Regions from separate parts of the Homo sapiens genome. Here region 1 is linked to region 2. Evidence: promoter capture Hi-C in human tissues and cell types (Jung and others, 2019). All regions are on one chromosome and are shown on one strand. Each heading gives the region's core, a stretch centred on a gene start or on the middle of the fragment in contact. The rest is flanking DNA. Distances are from core to core; before and after follow the strand shown.

Region 1 (3,156 bases), core at 614-3,113, 190 kb before region 2:
TGTTTCCAAAGAAAACTATAGTGCTGCCAGGTGCAGTGGCTCAACTTTGGGAGGCTGAGGTGGGCGGATCATGAGGTCAGGAGTTTGAGACCAGCCTGGCCAACATGGTGAAACCCCGTCTCTACTAAAAATACAAAAATTAGCCAGGCATGGTGGTGGGCACCTGTAATCCCAGCTACTCGGGAAGCTGAGGCAGGAGGATCGCTTGAACCTAGGAGGCAGAGGTTGCAGTGAGCGGAGATCGTGCCACTGCACTCCAGCCTAGGTGAAAGAACAAAACTCTGTCTCAAAAAAAAAAAAGAAAGAAAGAAAGAAAACTATAGCGTTAGATTAACCTTTGAGTTAATCTGAGTGGCCACGTGGTCATCTATGGTATGCAGCCACCCACAATACCCCTCCTCAGCATAAAGCAGCCAGAAAGATCACGTCCAGATTCCCCATGATTGAGGAATTGATAAATAGAAACAGGGAACTGAAACCAGCTCCAGTGTCCCATAGAACTGATATTTATGGTTTCTTTTGAATCAACACATTATAGACATTGAGCCTCCCCTTCCTAAAACTCGAGACACTTTTATTTGTCTTATCTGATTTCCTTTCTCAGGAAACCAAGCATCAGGCCTCCCAGATAGTATAAAGAAACTGAAACTTACTGGATTACCACATCTGGAAAAACGAGATGCTATACCCCTTACCCATGATGATTGCCTAACTGACCATCTGCTGCCTGTTGACCCATTCCTCTTCCTTACCCCTTCCTAATTCCTGTTTTCTCAAACATAGTTACACTTCTTCCCTGATGTATAAACCCCTAGTTTTAGTCAGTTGAGGAAAGAGATTTGAGATTGATCTCCCATTTTCCTCAGCTGCAGCACCGAATAAAGCCTTCATCCCTGACAATACTCATTGTCTTGCTGACTGGCCTTCTGTGCAGCAAGCAGCAGGATCTAGATGCAAGGACCTGGCCTTTCTGGTAATATTGTCATCAACCATTTAATGATGTAGACTTGGTCCCCGGCTCATGCTCTGTGTATTTTCTTCTCCATCTACATGCATTGCCTTGATGGTCTCACTCAATATCATGACTTGAAATAACAGTGTAAGGTAACTCCTAAATTCATATATTCATGCTCAAACCTTCTTCCAACATTCAGTCGTAAGTCGAATTGCCTGTGACAGAGATACTTTGTGGTTCTGTAGACATTTCAAACTAACCATCCTGAGCCTCCGAACCTCCTCCACTTGCAGCCTCCCCACCTCAGAAGTGGGCAAATCCACTTTTTGTGTGGTCTGGGCCAAATACATGACTCCCTGCATCACGTAGAGGCTGTGCTGGTCCAAAGAAGGCTCAAAAGAGGGCAGTTTGCGCACACAACGTGTCGGGGCAGGGCTTCCAGATGATCATTCGGCTTTTTTGTGTCTTCCAAGATGATGATCCGGGGAGGAGGGATGTGAAAGGGGGTCAGTCGCCAGGCGAGCTGAGGACCCAGTTCTGCGCCTTTGCCTGTGCCCTGACCTGAAGGAAAGTCCCTGTCTCCCGAGCTCCGATTTTCCCGAGAGAAGAATGCAATGTAACCCTTGCCCCTCGGTTCCCTCCCTCCATCCTTCCCCTCGAGTTGTGCCCACCGTAAAGAGGTGGGTCTGGAGCGTCTCCTCGGGTCCTGGAGTGCCTTTCCCTGGGAGGAAAACTTGCGCCGTGAAGCGTTCCTCCCGTTGTTGAACACATGAGGAAAACTACACTACTTAGAAGGCTGTGCATTATGCGTACGGCGGGAGCTGGGCCAACGACGGCCTAGGACGGGGACGTTTCCGACGGCTCACGCCGGTGGGGGCGGGACTTCCGGGTTGCTCGCTGCGGACGCCATTTTCTTCTGCACTTCTGTCTGGAGAGGTCTGTAGCCACTGAGGGCCCCGGTCGGGGCCGCTTTGCAGGTCCCTAGTCAGGACCGAGCAGGGGAGTAGGATAGGAATCCCCGCCGCACCTTTGTACGAGCCTGACCCCTTCCGTGGGTTTGTTCCTGGGTCGCCGTCAAGCTGCGGTCTCTCCTCCCCCGCCCTTCAGCCCCGCGGTCTCCAGGGGCGGCGCCCTGGGTCTGGAACGCGGTTGCCACCGAGGAGGCGGCGGCCCTGCGTCTGGAACGCCGTTGCCACCGAGGAGGCGGCGGCCCCGAGCGCGCCTGGAAGCCCCGGGCAACCGGCCAGGGTCGGGCACAGGTGGGGTCCGTCAGGCCGCCCGGGGCTCCTCTGTCCCAGCTCTGCGGCCCAGGGGGTGACGTGATGGCGGCAGCGGTGCTGACGGACCGGGCCCAGGTGAGTGGACGGTGGCTTCGCGGTTGCCGCTTCCTTGCCAGCGCTGAGGCGGTTTCCGAAGTGGGTGGGAGCCCAGGTATCCCCTGGATTTGTCTTCGCAGTCGTCGTTCGCTTTGGTGTGTGGAGCTGGTTTGCCACTTAATTTATACCTGGCCGTAAGGAGTGTTGGGCCTACTGGAAGGAGCTCCGTAGGTTGTTGAGTGAATGATGCTTCCTCTGGGGACTCCCATCATCCTTGGCCTGCAAGCATTCTCTGGTGGACCAGGTCTCATTCCAGCATGAATTGGGGGCCTGAGGGGGGAAGGGGAGGGCAGGGCAGTAGCAAGCCGACAAATGCGCGAGCAGAGACAAGGTATGTTGTATGTTTAAGGAGGCTCAGGAGGGTGTGTAAGGTTGCCATGGTTTTCCTGCGGCCGCTGAGACGTGGAGGGCAACAGTGTGTGGTCTTTTCCTGGATGTTCTAGCCATCCGCAACTACTGCAGACATTGTGGCCAGTCAGATGCCCTTACTCTCATCGCTACAGCCTGCATTATCCTTGGCCGCTCGTGTTCCGTGGCCCCAAAGTATCCTGGCGTCAGAGACAAGTTCTGTCGGAACCCAGTAAGGAAAGAGGCCGATGGTTGGTTCATTGTGGAATTTCCTTGGGGGATCTGGGAGACCCAGGGAGATCCCAGAGGGCATGGGAAGCTGGTCTGGAGCCTGTCGTTCCCCAAGTAGATGCAGCCCTTCCAGTGCCGCTCTGTGGGGTCAGTGAGGAATGCTGAGCTTTTTGTGCCCGTGTTCACATACTTTTTTTTGTTTTGAGACAGGGTCTCACTCTGTCGCCCAGGCTGGAGTACAGTGGT
Region 2 (3,189 bases), core at 237-2,736:
TCTCCTCCCCGCTCCCCCCTCCCCCCACCATCCCATTCTTCTGCCTCTGCCGGATCTTCAGCTGGGTAGCATTTTGGTTTTGTTTGTTTTTTAACCTGGAGGATGTCCCCAAATATCAAAACCTAAACTTCTGATTCTTAGAAGTCCTCCCTTCGATGAGTTGCTAGTTTTATTTCTGAACATGAACTTACCAAAACATCCCCCAGAAATCCCCTGGTCTCAGACATAACTCTCTATGCTTCCCATTCCATGGCAGCAACTCAGCCTAACTCATCCAAAGCAAAAAAGCAATCCCTTCTTGCTTAAGTGACACAAGGATCCCCAGATGAACAAGTAGCTGTATCACCCTTCAATTAAATGTAATAATATTTACTTCTGGTGGAACCTCTCCTTCCTTGGAACAAAGGGCCCCCAACCAGCAGAATTTACAATTAAGAAGAAGTGGCCAGACACAGTGGCTCAAGCCTGTAATCCCAGCACTTTGGGAGGCCGAGGCAGGCAGATCATAAGGTCAGGAGTTCGAGACCAGCCTGGCCAACATGGTGAAACCCTATCTCTACTAAAGATACAAAAAATTAGCTGTGCGTGGTGGTGCGTGCCTGTAATCACAGCTACTCGGGAGGCTGAGGCAGGAGAATTGCTTTAACCCGGGAAGAGGGGGTTGCAGTGGGCTGAGATCATGCCATTGCACTCCAGCCTGGGCGACAGGGCAAAAAAAAAAATTAGCCGGGCATGGTGGCGGGCGCCTATAATCTCAGCTATTCAGGAGGCTGAGGCAGAAGAATCGCTTGAAGCCGGGAGGCAGAGGTTGCAGTGAGCTGAGATCGCGCCAATGCACTCCAGCCTGGGTGACAGAGCAAGATTCTGTCTCAAAAAAAAAAAAAGAAAAAAAGAAAAAAGAAGAAGGGTAGCAGAAATTCTGTGAATGAGTTACTAGGTTCAAAAATGAGGATGCTCAATATAATGCATAGGTTCAGAAAAAAATTACGATGAAAAGAATTGTCAAATTTTGTAACTGATACTTGACCTGGTTAAATTTGAATTATTTCTAATTCCCTATGTATATGTGCAGTGAGATAAAAGATAAATATTGTATGTGACATACTCATCATAAAATTATTTGTTGTTTATCTGAAATACATTCTAAATCAGGGGTCCCCAACCCCTGGGGCCACAGATGAGTACTATGGCCTGTTAGGAATGGGGCCATATAGCAGAGGGTGAGTGGCAGATGAGTGAGCATTGCTGCCTGATCTCCGCCTCCTGTCAGATCGGCAGCAGCATTAGATTCTCATAGGGGTGCAAACCCTACTGTGAACTGCACAAGAGAGGGATCTAGGTTGTATGCTCCTTATGAGAATCTAATGCCTCTGAAACCATCTGCCCCCAAACCCCTCTCCCTTATCCATGGAAAAATTGTCTTCCACAAAACCGGTCCCTGGTACTAAAAAGCTTGGGGATCACAGTTCTAATGACATAACTCTTTCCCTGATAATTTGCTTCTACTTAACAATTCCTTGTTTTATATAATTTGCTTACAGAATTCCTGCAGTTACAGTCTTGATGCCATTTATGTTGTGACAAACCTTCGTCATTTGTCATATTCAACTTATTTCATTCCTTTATCTATTGGACATTCATTAATGAGAAACACACTCAACAGTAGCATTCTGAGCCTAAAGACTCATGATGATAAACAGTGTAGAAAACATTACAAACTCTATTATAATTATTCTACCATCTCCATCTGATTTTAACAAAAAAGTTATTTTGTCTCTTTCTTTGGAACTAGTTGAGAAAATCATGCACCTTCCAAAGTTAATATATATTTGACTGTCCACCATTTTCATTAGTCAATGGGCAATTACATAGAGTCGAAGACCTTCAAAGGGAATTTTAAATACTCCTCAGTTCATCATAAATTATAAACTTGCATTTTGACATTTTTTGCATTCAATATACTCAAAATATAGACAATAGCAACTTCTACAAGAGTTGAAAAACATTGTGGGTACAGTGGCTCATGCCTGTAATCGCAGCACTTTGGGAGGCCTAGGCGGACAGATCACTTGAGGTCAGGAGTTCGAGACCAGTATGGCCAACATGGCGAAACCCCATCTCTAATAGAAATACAAAAAATTAGCCAGGCATGGTGCCACGCGCCTGTAATCCCAGCTACTTGGGAGGCTGAGGCATGAGAATCACTTGAACCTGGGAGCCAGAGGTTGCAGTGAGCCGAGATTGCGCCACTGCACTCCAGCTGGGTGACAGAGTGAAACTGTATCTTAAAAAAAAAAAAGAAAAGAAAGAAAAAAGAAAACACTGGAGAAAACGTTGGATTTTACAATGTATGTCTGGGTCAGTTAGTCTACCATTTCATATCCAAACTCATAACTAATTACAAACAGATGGAACCATTGAAAGCTTGCAAACTTTTAAATTATATTCATATAATTAAAATATAAGTAATAATTTATATTCAATTAAGAATAAATGGGGCCAGGCGTGGTGGCTCATGCCTGTAATCCCAGCACTTTGGGAGGCCGAGGCAGGCGGATCATGAGGTCAAGAGATCGAGACCATCCTGGCCAACATGGTGAAATCCCGTCTCTACTAAAAATACAAAAAAATTAACTGGGCGTGGTGGCGTGCATATGTAGTTCCAGCTACTTGAGAGTCTGAGGCAGGAGAATCACTTGAACCGGAGAGGCGGAGGTTGCAGTGAGCCGAGATCACACCACTGCACTCCAGCCCAGCGACAGAGTGAGACTCCGTCTCAAAAAAAAAAAAAAGAATAAATAGATTTTGATATCTCAAGGGAAAAAAAGTGATATTCCTATTTGTCTGCAGGGCAGAGCTGTAGTGGTCAGGCAGTCTCCTCAAACAAAGCCAAAACTGCTATTATATGAGCTTTTAGGAAGGCTGGCCTTCAGGGACTGAGGACTTTCAGAAGCAGCAGAGTTGAAAGACTGATGGACTTTCAGGTATGTTAGTGTAAATGCAACCATTTACCAACTGGCTTTCATAAACAGGATTACTGACAGGAGGCACTTGTGGATTAGTTGTTGCCAGCAGCCTGGGGCTGCCACTGATTGACCATCTTTAGTACTGGGCCTTACCCCCATTGGAAAAATTTTAGAATCTTGGCCTAACAATGATTTGCTAAGTTTCTGGTTAATTACTGGGGTG

Evidence for each region. Contacts are between HindIII fragments. The study calls those that stand out against the background at their distance.
Region 1: the fragment with the promoter of ZNF264 here is called in contact with a fragment that was not itself captured in region 2 in 3 of the 25 tissues and cell types used here (adrenal gland, dorsolateral prefrontal cortex and thymus).

The regions. Positions count from the first base shown.
Region 1 is chr19:57,189,637-57,192,792 of GRCh38, forward strand. It overlaps ZNF264 (zinc finger protein 264), which reads left to right and starts at 1,864. Exons shown (of 4, transcript NM_003417.5): 1 at 1,864-2,310. The coding sequence starts at 2,278. RefSeq lists enhancers at 1,700-1,759, 1,780-1,869, 1,880-1,939 and a silencer at 2,110-2,379. The HindIII fragment of the contact is 13,408 bases long and covers 1-3,156 here.
Region 2 is chr19:57,383,493-57,386,681 of GRCh38, forward strand. No RefSeq gene overlaps it. Among named protein-coding and RNA genes, the nearest start is that of ZNF548, 4.8 kb to the right of the region's middle. The HindIII fragment of the contact is 6,124 bases long and covers 1-3,189 here.